Regions from separate parts of the Homo sapiens genome. Here all the other regions are linked to region 3. The links are contacts of gene promoters, found by promoter capture Hi-C in blood cells and fetal thymus (Javierre and others, 2016). All regions are on one chromosome and are shown on one strand. Each heading gives the region's core, a stretch centred on a gene start or on the middle of the fragment in contact. The rest is flanking DNA. Distances are from core to core; before and after follow the strand shown.

Evidence for each region. Contacts are between HindIII fragments. The CHiCAGO score rates a contact against its expected background, and 5 or more counts as called.
Region 1: a contact is called between the fragment with the promoter of DDX6 here and the fragment with the promoter of MCAM in region 3, in 2 of 17 cell types (neutrophils and fetal thymus). The highest score is 7.6, in neutrophils.
Region 2: the fragment with the promoter of PHLDB1 here is called in contact with the fragment with the promoter of MCAM in region 3 in 2 of 17 cell types (fetal thymus and total CD8 T cells); the score reaches 8.3 in fetal thymus.

Annotation. Positions count from the first base shown.
Region 1 is chr11:118,788,884-118,792,557 of GRCh38, reverse strand. DDX6 (DEAD-box helicase 6) reads left to right here and starts at 1,394. Exons shown (of 14, transcript NM_004397.6): 1 at 1,394-1,460. RefSeq lists enhancers at 7-562, 1,179-1,288, 2,599-2,778, 2,237-2,794 and silencers at 619-908, 1,359-1,688, 2,319-2,398. The HindIII fragment of the contact is 4,863 bases long and covers 1,211-3,674 here.
Region 2 is chr11:118,606,251-118,609,783 of GRCh38, reverse strand. It overlaps PHLDB1 (pleckstrin homology like domain family B member 1), which reads right to left and starts at 2,169. Exons shown (of 23, transcript NM_001144758.3): 1 at 2,085-2,169. LOC124902765 (a long non-coding RNA gene) reads left to right here and starts at 1,273. Exons shown (of 2, transcript XR_007062908.1): 1 at 1,273-1,661; 2 at 2,596-3,533. RefSeq lists enhancers at 1-323, 324-998, 1,036-1,330 and silencers at 1,458-1,527, 1,588-1,677. The HindIII fragment of the contact is 8,144 bases long and covers 1-3,533 here.
Region 3 is chr11:119,315,863-119,319,493 of GRCh38, reverse strand. It overlaps MCAM (melanoma cell adhesion molecule), which reads left to right and starts at 2,364. Exons shown (of 16, transcript NM_006500.3): 1 at 2,364-2,459. The coding sequence starts at 2,393. RefSeq lists an enhancer at 735-784 and a silencer at 2,026-2,085. The HindIII fragment of the contact is 17,882 bases long and covers 1-3,631 here.

The sequences.
Region 1 (3,674 bases), core at 145-2,644, 530 kb after region 3:
TTCTCCATTTCCTTACTGAATTCCTATTTCTATTATAACTGACGCTTCACTAGCTTCCCTCCCTTTAGTGGAGGGCCCGGCCTCCTCCGCCCCTACTTTCTTCAGTCTTGCCCTTCGAGGGCAGGAGAAGACGGTTGCGCCCTACTAACTCTTCACCTTACAGTCCAGCTTCTCCCCCCACCACCCCGGTGCGCTCTCTCGGTTTGCTACCCTCTCCACCAGGCCTCCCCACTCCACCTGCGCAACGCCCCCAGCTCCGTGCTCTCCGGAGTAATCCCCCCTCAGTCGCACTCTCACAGCCCGGCCCCTGCCCCCGCCTCACCCCCAGTTGTGCCTTCACCTCCCGGTTCCTCCTAGACAGGTCCCCCAAGATACGCCCTCACAGTCCGGTCCCCCGCCGTCCTCTCCCGGCGCACGCTCAAGTCCGGTGCCTTCCCCCCGCAGACCCCCGAGGCGCACCCTCAAGCTCGGTGCCTCTGCGCCCCCCGCAGGGGCGCCCTCAAGCCTGGTACCCTTCACATGAGAGCCCCCCGGGCGCACCCTCAAGCTCGGTGTACCCCCCCATACCACCCGCAGGCGCGCCCTCATGCCCGAAGACTTCCCCCGCCCAGGTGCACCCTCAAGCCCGGTGCCTTCCCCCACAACCAGCGCCCCCAGGCGCACCCTCAAGCCCGGAGCCTACCCGCCGCCAGGCGCGCCCTACAGGCTCGCCCCGTCCCACCGCGCAGCGCCCCCCGCGCACTCTCTGGAGTCCTCCCTCCTGCCTGGTGCGGCCTCCGGGCCCGGTCGGCCCCCCTTCCTGCCCCCACACTCAGACGCGCGCCCGGCGTCTCCGGGTCGCTAGTTCCGCGCCTTCCTGCATGGAGGCGCGCCCCGAGAGGCTCGGACGCGGCCCCTTAGGCCCGGCATCAGCCTCCCCGGCCAGCTGGAGAAGTCAGGTCAGCTTCCTGTCCCCGAGCAGCTGCCCGGGGGCCAGTTTTCAAAACATATCCTTAGTCATGTAATAAAGAGATGTTCCTCTGGTCTCAACTCCCGATTTTTACTTTGGAGGGGCGAAGGCAGGCCTACCCTTGCCAGCCACCATTTCTCAATCACGTCGCGGCTGTGGAAAAGCAGCCGTCCTGTCCCTTCAGAAAGGAACTCGTATTTCCCCCTCGAACTTTTCTCGTCGGTGTGAGAGAAGGGCCCTCCATTTTCTCCTCAGGAAGCTTTCGCGGCCCGACTTCCTCTCACCACCAGGCCAGGAAGGCAGTGACGCCGCGGCGAATATAGCCGCGGCGGCCGAGGTTTCGCCATCTTGAGTGGAGGAGGAGCCGCGGTCGCCGCCATGCGGAGAGGCAGGGAAAGAGGGAGGAGGCGGCGGGCGGGCGAACGGGCGAGCGAGGGAGGGGGCAGAGGAGCCGAGTTAGCTCAGCCAGGCGGCGACTTCGGCGGCGCCACGAGAGCGGGCAGCGGAGGAGGTAGGGCTGGACAGCCGGGGGAGCCGGCGGCTCGGGCGGCTGGCCTGCGCGCCCCTCGGAGCGGGGCGGGGGCGGGGGCGAGAGGAGGCCGTAGCGAGAGGGCTGGGTGGGGGCGGGCGGAGGTTTCCGAGGAGGAAGGAGCGTCCGCCATTTTGGGAGCTTCGAGTCAACAATAAAGGACCGAGGGTGCCGAGCGGGAGTGGCCTCGTTGGTAGGACACGGGCCCGAGTCGCGAGGCTTGGGGTGAGGTGGTGGGGTCGAGGTCAGCGGTGCTTTGGGGGCTGTGGGGAGCCCCCCGGGCCGGCTCTGGGGGACTCTCGGGCGGAGGCCTAAGGCCTGGCCGGGCCTGGGGAGGAAGGCGGTCGGCAGCTGTGTGGGGTGGGAGCGCCTGAGAGGAGGCGAATATAGGAATGTGGTGCGCAGCAGGGTCGGCAGGAGGAACAGGCTAAGTACTCGGAGTAGCTTTATCGAAGATGAGGGAATATGAGGCCGAAGGGGGCGGCAAGGACTTAGGGGGATGATGGTGGAGGTTATAGGGTACGAGGCGGCCCTATAGGGGGCGGCAGGGACATGCTGTATTGGAGGGCTCGGTTTAGAAGCAAACCGGCCGCTGCTTGATTGCAGTAGGCCTTGCGGGTCAATAACAAGAGGGTATTTATGGAGCCCCCGACTCTTGGAGGAAAGGAGGGGGATTTCTGGTTTAGGGGGTCCATTTGGGGCCTCCTTGGGGGAGTCCCTATTGTTTGCTACTAATGGAGCGGTTGCTGGCTCATATTGCGCAGATAAGATTGCAGAGCCCCAACCTTTTGTGTTTATGGTCAGAAGTGTGTGTGTTTGGGGCGTGGGGCGGGGTGCGGGGGGACAAGAAATTTCCTTTCAGTTACGGGGTTCCAGTCATTAGTCAATGACTCTTTCCCGTATCTCTCTCCTTTCTCTTCCTCAGCCCCCATTTCCCTTCAGAATAAAACCCAGTCACTCCAACTTGCAGGCAAAGCTAGAAAAACTGCGCTGCATTTGCAAACAAAAGCTCTTGTTGGCGATGACGATACTGTTTTGGGTGTGAAACTGTCAATTGCTAACTACGATCTGTGAAGTGCTGTAATTAACTCCGCTAGGGGCTCCTCCCAACTAGTCTACGTTTCTTGTTGTTTGTTTTTTGTTTTTTTGTTTTTTGTTTTTGAAAATGTAGAAAACTTGCAAATCTAAATTGGGAAGGGGTAGGAGGAATATTTCCTTCTCTGAGAAAAAGCTGCAGTGCAGGTTTCAGTTTAAGAAGGGAGCAGTTATCACATAGTCTCATTTTGGATTTAAGGATATAGGAGGTCTTACTGTGCATGATGGACAGTAATGATGATATCGTTCGGTCTTTAGAGGTTGCCCTTTTCATCCTCTTAGTGCTCTGCAAACAGCTAAGTCTCTGTGAACTGCGTGATATCGCTGATCATAATATAAAACCGTCAATACAGGAAAGTAGCTGTTAACCATATCTGCTTAAGAGGTCAGAGTCTGAAGTAAACAGCTTTGTGTATGTGATAATCAGGATTTGCTTGTGAGCAACTTGTTCATTTTTTTTTTAAGGAAGGCATAATCAAGGAGCATTTTCTTCATAAATGTTGAGATCTGTTGACTTTAAAATTTTGAGTTTCACATGCCTTGGTGTATGGCAGAAAGAATCAGCACTCGTAAGCTAGTGTATTTTATATAAGAAATGTAACGGGGTTGCTGGGAGCGGTGGCTCACACCTGTAATCCCAGCACTTTGGGAGGCCAAGACAGGCGGATCAGCTGAGGTCAGGAGTTCGATACTAGCCTGGCCAACATGGCAAAACCCCGTCTCTACTAAAAATAGAAAAAATTTAGCTGCGCGTGGTGGCAGGCGCCTGTAATCCCAGCTACTCGGGAGGCTGAGACAGGGGAATCGCTTGAACCCAGGAGGCGGCGGTTGCAGTGAGCCAAGATTGTGCCACTGCACTCCAACCTGGGCGGCAGAGCGAGACTCCGCCTCAAAAAAAAAAAAAAAAAAAAAGTGTAACGGGGTTAAATCAAAAGCCAACAGAGTAGGGCTTTGTTTTCGTGTCTTTGTATGTTTTTATTAACTCCAATTAAAAGTAAGATTTCAGCCGGGCACGGTGGCTCTCGCCTGTAATCCTAGCACTTTAGGAGGCTAAGGCGGGCAGATCATTTGAGGTTAGGAGTCCAAGACCAGCCTGGCCAA
Region 2 (3,533 bases), core at 920-3,419, 710 kb after region 3:
TGCCCGCGTGGGACAAGGCCGCAGTGTTGGGCGCCTGCCGCTGCCGCCTGCCCGCCCGCCCCTGACAAGCGGCCTTTCTTTGGCGGGGCAGAGAGAAGGAGCCGCTTGTTTGCGCGGCCGGGAAACGGGGCGGCCCCCACAGACACCGCCCGTTCCGAGCCTGGCAGCTGCGGGAAGGGCGGCTGAATGTGTGTGAGGGGCCGCGTGTGTGAGCTGGGGCTGCGGTGTGAGCTGGGCTGTGTGTGTGACTGGGGCTGCATGTGTGAGGGGGCTGCATGTGTGAGCTGGGCTGCGTGTGTGAGCTGGGCTGTGTGTGTGGCTGGGGCTGTGTGACGGGCTGCGTGTGTGAGCTGGAGTGTATGTGTGAGCTGGGCTGCGTGTGTCAGCTGGGCTGTGTATTGAGCTGAGCTGTGTGTGTGATAGGCTGTGTGTGTGATGGGCTGTGTGTGTGAGCTGGGCTGTGTGTGTAAGCTGGGCTGTGTGTGTAACTGGGGCTGTGTGTGTGAGCTGGGCTGTGTATTGAGCTGAGCTGTGTGTGTGACGGGCTGCGTGTGTGAGCTGGGCTGTGTGTGTATAACTGGGGCTGTGTGTGTGAGCTGGGCTGTGTGTGTGACGGGCTGCTTGTGTGAGCTGGGCTGTGTGTGTGAGCTGGGCTGTGTGTGTGACGGGCTGCTTGCATGAGCTGGGCTGTGTAACTGGGGCAGTGTGTGTGAGCTGGGCTTCGTGTGTGAGCTGGGGCCTCGTGTTTGACTGGGGTGTGTGTGTGAGAGCTGGGGCTGCGTGTGTGAGCTGGGCTTCGTGTGTGAGCTGGGGCCTCATGTGTGACGGGTACGTGTGTGAGCTGGGTTGTGTGTGTGACTGGGGTGCGTGTGTGAGGTAGGCTGTGTGACTGGGGTGCATGTGTGAGCTGGGGCGCGTGTAAGCGGGGCTGCGGGTGTGAGGGGCTGCGTGAGCGCGGGGCGCTTTCCTGTGAGGCGTAAGGCATGGAGTGCGTGGGAAGGCCTCGGCGTGTGGGCGGGTCCGGGTGTGTCTGGGTGGCGTGACGCAGGGACGTAGGTGTGCGAAGTGTCGCGGAGGCGTGCGTGTGTGCCGCGTGGGAGCCCGGCGTGGTGGGGCGCCTGCGTTTGCGTTTGACGGCTGGGGGGTGAGCCCGCCGCCCGATGAGTCAGCCTCGGGAGGCTCCAGGACCGCTGAGCTAACGGCCCAGAATGCAGCCCCGCCCCAGAGCCGTGGGTCCCCGGCAGGGCTGTGCGGTCGCCCGGCCAAGTCCCCACTCGAGCCTGCCTCGGCGGAAGCGCTAGCGGGCGACTCGGCCACCCTGCGCCGGCGCCCCTACCCAGCCGCCCGCCCGCACTTCCCTATCCCGGGGGAGCCCGGATGACTTGGGTCAGCCTCCGCTCGGGGAACTCCGCTAGGGATTCCAATAGGGACCGCGCGGGCGTGGCAAGGCGCCCCAGGCGGCCTCCCCGGCCCCCGAGGACGTGGGGCCTTGGGGAGTGCCTGGGAGGCCCCAGGCGGGCTTCCCATCTCCTGGACACCCCCAGGCAGCCCTCCTAGACGCTCAAGACTCTGAGCCGGACTCCGAATCCCTTCCTGGTCCATCAAGGCGGCCGGCCTGGGGACAGGCGGGGAGACGTCACAGGAGATACCCCCGCCCCAAGGTCCTGCTGTGGGCGGAGAGGGGGAGGTGTGGGGCGCTGGAGGACGAAAACCCGCGCGCGCGCTCGCCGCCCGATACCCCGCGAGTGTCCGCCCGGCCGCCTGGGTGCCGGCGGGAGAGTCTGGATAGGGCCAGGATCAGAGTTTCTCCAAGGGGGGGAGAGCGTCACGGCCCCCTCTGGCGGTGGCGTTGGCAGCGGCCGAGGAAGGCAAAAGCAAGAGGCTCACAGGAAAACTCCCCATAACGCTCCTTTCGCCCCCACGCACTCACCTGGGGTGCCCTCTCTCCCCCACGGGTTTCTGCCGAGCTCCCTAGCCTAGAGCTGATCTCAGGGCTCTCGCCAGGCCCCGGGGACTTCCCCTTATCCAGTCCTAGCACCGCAGCGAATGGGACCCGCAAGTGTAGTGGGACGGGGCGCTCTTACCTAGAGGTGGGGGGGGGGCAGGGAGACACTGGTCCCTTAGCCTGGCTCGGCTCGGTCGCGGTGGCCTCAGGCTTAGGAGGACACCGTTGCTTTTCCCCGGGAGCTCGCTAAGTAGGAGGAGAGCGAGCCTGTCCCGCCCCCCTCCCGCCAGTCCCCGCCCCCGTCCCCCGTCCCGTCCGCCTGGCCAGCCAAAGAAGACGCCCTTGTGGGGCTGGAGCCCAAGGTCCCCCCACCCACCCTTTCCCACAGCAGCACCTCCCCCAGCCTGCACAGCGCCCGCTTTGTTCATCTTTGCAGCTGGGCTCTCCACCATCACCACCACCACCACCACCACCACCACCACCACCACCACCACCACCACCACCACCACACATCCCCCTCTCCTCCCACCCTGCCCTCCCGACTCTCCTAGACCACCCTCCACTCCCAGGCTTTAACACGCTTTTGAGAGGGTGTTTTTGACAATCCGTTCTCCCTCCCCCAAACTCTCCCCTCTTTCTTTTTGCCTTAGATGCCTGAAACCTCCACGGGCTCCCACTGAACCTCCCAAATCGAAGCCCCTACAACATGCTCTCAACATCTCCAGAACATCTACTGAGGGTACCCAGGTCTTCTCCCTGTCACCTCCTCCCCTCGCCCTATTCCAAGCCCCACCATGAAGAGCTGTAAATGACATTGATAGCCACGCACATCAGGCTTCACAGACTTTCTTAAGGATAGGCACAAGAAGACTCGTTAAAGTGTCATGCAAACTCCAAAGCACAGGAAAACCGAATGGAATTATCATCTTGCCCCCATGGAGCTCCACACCCCTCCACCCCGACAGACTTGCTGGATTACAGATTGGGAGATGGAGGCAGGCTATAGACATACAATTGAGCACACCAACCTGTAGTAGGAGTGGGAGTTAATAAGGAAGAGAAGGAGGCACTAAACACCTAAAAGCAGCCCCCAAATTGAGCTAGGTTGAAGTCATTCTCCATCTCAACCTCCACTCCGAAATCCAACGCTGACAGTGGATCCTTACCTTGCAAAGCCAGCTCTTGGTCCAGGAGACTGGCTGGGGAGGCCCTAGGGAGCTGAACTCAGCTGGACTGGACTTCTTTGACCTGCACTAGAGGGACCCTGGAGACTCTTCTTCACTGAAGGAAGGAGCAGAAAGCCTGTAAGTCTGGTCTAAATTCCAGCTGGGGTGGATAGCAAAAAATAATTTATCCTCTTTGAGATGGACAAGTGCTGTTCTAATTCAATGAGTTTAGTTTGTGCCGTCTCTCCCTAACCCAGGAACAGCAGGAGGCTGAACTACAGGAATCTCTGGTCACTCATTGACAGGGCTGGCCTTAGCAGGGGACCCCCCACGGCTGGAGACTGAAGCTGACCGGGGCCAAGCAGCAGACAAGGAGGGGGAGGGGAGAGGCCGCCCTTTGCTGCCACCTGCTATAGCTAATG
Region 3 (3,631 bases), core at 1,115-3,614:
TATGCGCAGGAGGGTCCCCTCATGTGTGAGGGGCCCAGGTCCACCATGGGGCTGGAGGAAAGCAGCCTTCTTGCCTGCAACCCAACGAGGGAAAAAAGAAGAATTAGGACTCTGCCCCCAGGGCCTCTTCTGGCCCTGGCCTACATCTGAGCCAGGCTCTTCCAACCCAGTCCAGGTGCTGGGTCCCTGCAGGGTAGACGGCCGTGGCCTCCTCCTCCAACTCCCTTCTGCTGGCTGTCACTCCTGTCCTGCTGGAAGTCCCGCAGCCACCTTCTCTCCCCTGGGGCTGCCGGAGCACTAGCCTCTGGCCTCTAAGAAGAGCTGAGGGCTGATCCCCTTCACCTTCCGCTCCCTCCACCCTGCTCCCTGCCTCCACTCCTGCGTCCTTTCCGAGGTCCTGACCCGTCTTTAGTTTGGAATCCCAAAGTGCCCACCTCATGAAACCATCCCAAAGCTATCTGTCCCCTGAGGCTATGACCCACTTCCGAGCAGCCTAGACAGCCCCAGGCTACTGGCTTCCTTAAAGGACAGTCTTCTGTGCTTGTTTGGTGGGGCAATGCGAAGGGACGTCACCCTGGGCTCTAGGCTCTGACCTCATTTCCCTTTCACCGCAGAGACAAATCCTCCACCCCCACCTGGCTTCACTCTCCTCCAGCGGAAGAAGAATTCAGAACTGACTGTCCTTGGTGGTTAGCTGGCTTTGTTTTCAGGCCAGAGAGGCGAATGATTAGTTAATGGTGTTAAGTGAAGGAAGGGGGTTGGGCAGGGAAGCCAGCTCCATGCCCAGCCGGGCCTGCCAGGGCAAACGGCATCCTTCAGCCATTCCCACTCCAGCCCAGCAGACAAAACATTCTCATCTAGTCAGCTCTGGGCCTGGGGCCAGTCCATACATTCACTCTGGAGGGCGAGCCAGCGTCCTCCTCTTGTTCTCCCTGCAGGCTCCAGGCTCCAGGCCCCTGGCCCGGTGGGCCTGGGCTCTGCACAGCCTCTGGCTGGAGACTAATGGCATTGGAGGAGGGGTCGAGAAGGCTCTGAAAGACAAGCCTGGTGTGGTTTTCCAGTCATCTCTGCGTCATCAAAACGCCACCCCGGAGCATGCTCTCAAGTCACCTGGCCATCTCCAGGGTTTGCTGGCTCACCCTCCACCTCCCCCAGCGAGCAAAGGGGTGGCCCCGCTGGGCAACAGACCTCTACCCAAATCCAGGCCCCTATTTGGCACTCCCTGGTGGAGGCGCGCCAGCAGATGTGGACCCCTTTTCTGAGGCCAGGCTGCTGGGGTCAGAGTGAGGCAAGAGCACCTCCCCCTCCCTAGAGCCTTAGTTCAAGAGGCCAGAAGACCCAGGGAGAAGCCGGCGTTTTGGGAGAAGGGGAGCTGCAGAGCTCCCCACCCAAGCAGGTCTGATTTGATTCTTCCCTCAGCTATGGACCCACAATCAATAGGGCTGGGGAAGACATGGGGTGGGGGAAGATCAGCGCTGCCGGGATCCTTTCAATCATCAGGAACAGCAACAGGTTTGCAGGGTCAGGCTGGGGACCCTCGCCCATTAACTCTTTCTTCTCCCTGTTTCTTTCTCTTAGGTGAGGGGAAACTGAGTTCCAGGGTAGGCTCCAGAGTGAAGAGGGAAGAAACATGATTCTCAAGGCCCAGGTCTGGACAAGTGTGAACACCTTGGGCCTGCGAATTCAGCCCCCTCCTTCCTTTCTCTGGTCAAAGGCTAGACTTGCAGGAGCTTGCGTTTGAAGGGACAGCCCAGAAGGCATCGTCTGCACTCCCCATACAGGTACTTCTGGGTCTGTGGGACTGGCGCAGGGTTCTTCTCCCAAAGCTGCCAGCACTGAGGCTGAGGCAGTGTCAGGCCGGCGGCAGCGGCAGTGGTGCAATCGTTCTGGGAAGCGATAGAGGCCGGCCTGAATTCTCTGTGGCAAGGGAGGGGAGCCCAAGTGGGAGGCCCCTTGGGGACACCGAGGACCAGGTCCGCTACTGCTCCTCCCCCAGGAGGTCCCCTAGGGGCTACATTGGCTGGCAGGGGCTGAGCAGCGGTGAGCCTGGCTGGCTTCGACCCGGGGCGACTCCGGGCATCCGGGACAGCTTCTCCTCGCTGCCACCTCGGCCAGTCAGACCCCGAGACACCTGTCACTACCCCCTCAGCCTTCCCAAGCCAGGAGCCTGGGAGTCCGGCTCTGGCCTACCTCCGGCAGCGCTCCTAGGCGCAGCTCCCGGGCTGGCGGCGCCGGGGCCCGCCCCCTAGGGCTGCGGCGCGCGGGGCGGGGGCTGGGGGCTGCGCGGGGCGGGGCGGGCCCGGGCGCTCCGGGCCCCCTCCCCCGCCCCCCTGACGTCAGCCCCCGGCAGCCTCGAGCTGCTCACTTGGCTCTCGCCCTCCGGCCGGGAAGCATGGGGCTTCCCAGGCTGGTCTGCGCCTTCTTGCTCGCCGCCTGCTGCTGCTGTCCTCGCGTCGCGGGTGAGTTCGCTCGCAGGGGGGCCGCGCCCCGGCTAGGGGTCTGCGGTGGAGCGTGCCAGGGAGCAGAGCCAGCGGCGCGGCGGGGTCGGGGCGTTGCGTCTGGGAGGACGAGCCTCCTCCCTGGGTCCCCGATCCCCGGGCGCCTTGCGCGCGAGCAACTCTTCTTTGCAGCCAGTTTGCAGCCGGGATTCTAGAGTATCCCGGGAGCAGCACTCGGAAGGCGGGGAGGAGGCTGCTTCTGGGAACGAGAAGGGGTGGAGCTCAGCCTTTCGGGGTGCTGGGGGGTGGGTGGTCCCTGAGGTGCTCACTCTGGGGGCCCGCAATTGAAGCCGGGCAGGAGGCGCAGCTGGGGCGCATCCTCAAAGCCTGAATTCCGCGCCCGCCTGTTGCTGGAAAAGGCAGCTTCCTTCGCTGGAGGGGGTGCGCCGACCCACCCCTTCCCCCTTCTGCCTGGGCATCACGCCAGGCTGGAGGTGAGCGAGAGCGGGAGGTTCGGCGGCTCCCGCCCGAGCTGGGCGTTGGCAGGGGTTGCGGGGCGGTGTGGGTCGCCTCGCGCCTCCCCGAGTGATGGGATCATAGGGGACAGAGATGAGGGATGGAGGATTCCCATACTGGAAGCGCCCGCTGGCTTATTTTGGGGACCACATTCAGGTGGGAAGTGCGCCCGGGCACCTCGGAGCGTTTCTCCGGATCCGCCTGGTAGCAGGGCGCTCTCGGGTCCACGCTGCCCTTGTATGGCCCGCAGCGGTGTCGCGTGTTTCTCTTGGCTCCCATTCCGCCGTCCCAGCCGCTGTCCGGCTGGGGAAGGGGAGGGCTAGGCAATACCCAGCTCGCTGGCCTCATGCCCAGTGCCAACCATGTCCCTGGGGTATTCCAGGCTACTGCCTCCCAGGCTGACTTTATTTCTGGGGAAAGGGCTAAATCGGGCTCCACAGTTGCAGCCGGTCCAGCTCCACCCTGCCCTGCTCTTCTAGCTCTGGGAGGAGTCAGGGGTCTGAGGCTCTGGGTTGGAGACCCCACCTTCCACCTGCCCTCCTTGTCCGAGAGCCAAGGTAACAACCCAGGCATCCCAGAGCCCAGGCAGATGGTGTCGAGTGACATCACCTCCTCACAGGGCTGGCAGCACGCTGGCACCACTGACGTCACTCCTGCCCACTGCCTGGCCCTTGCCC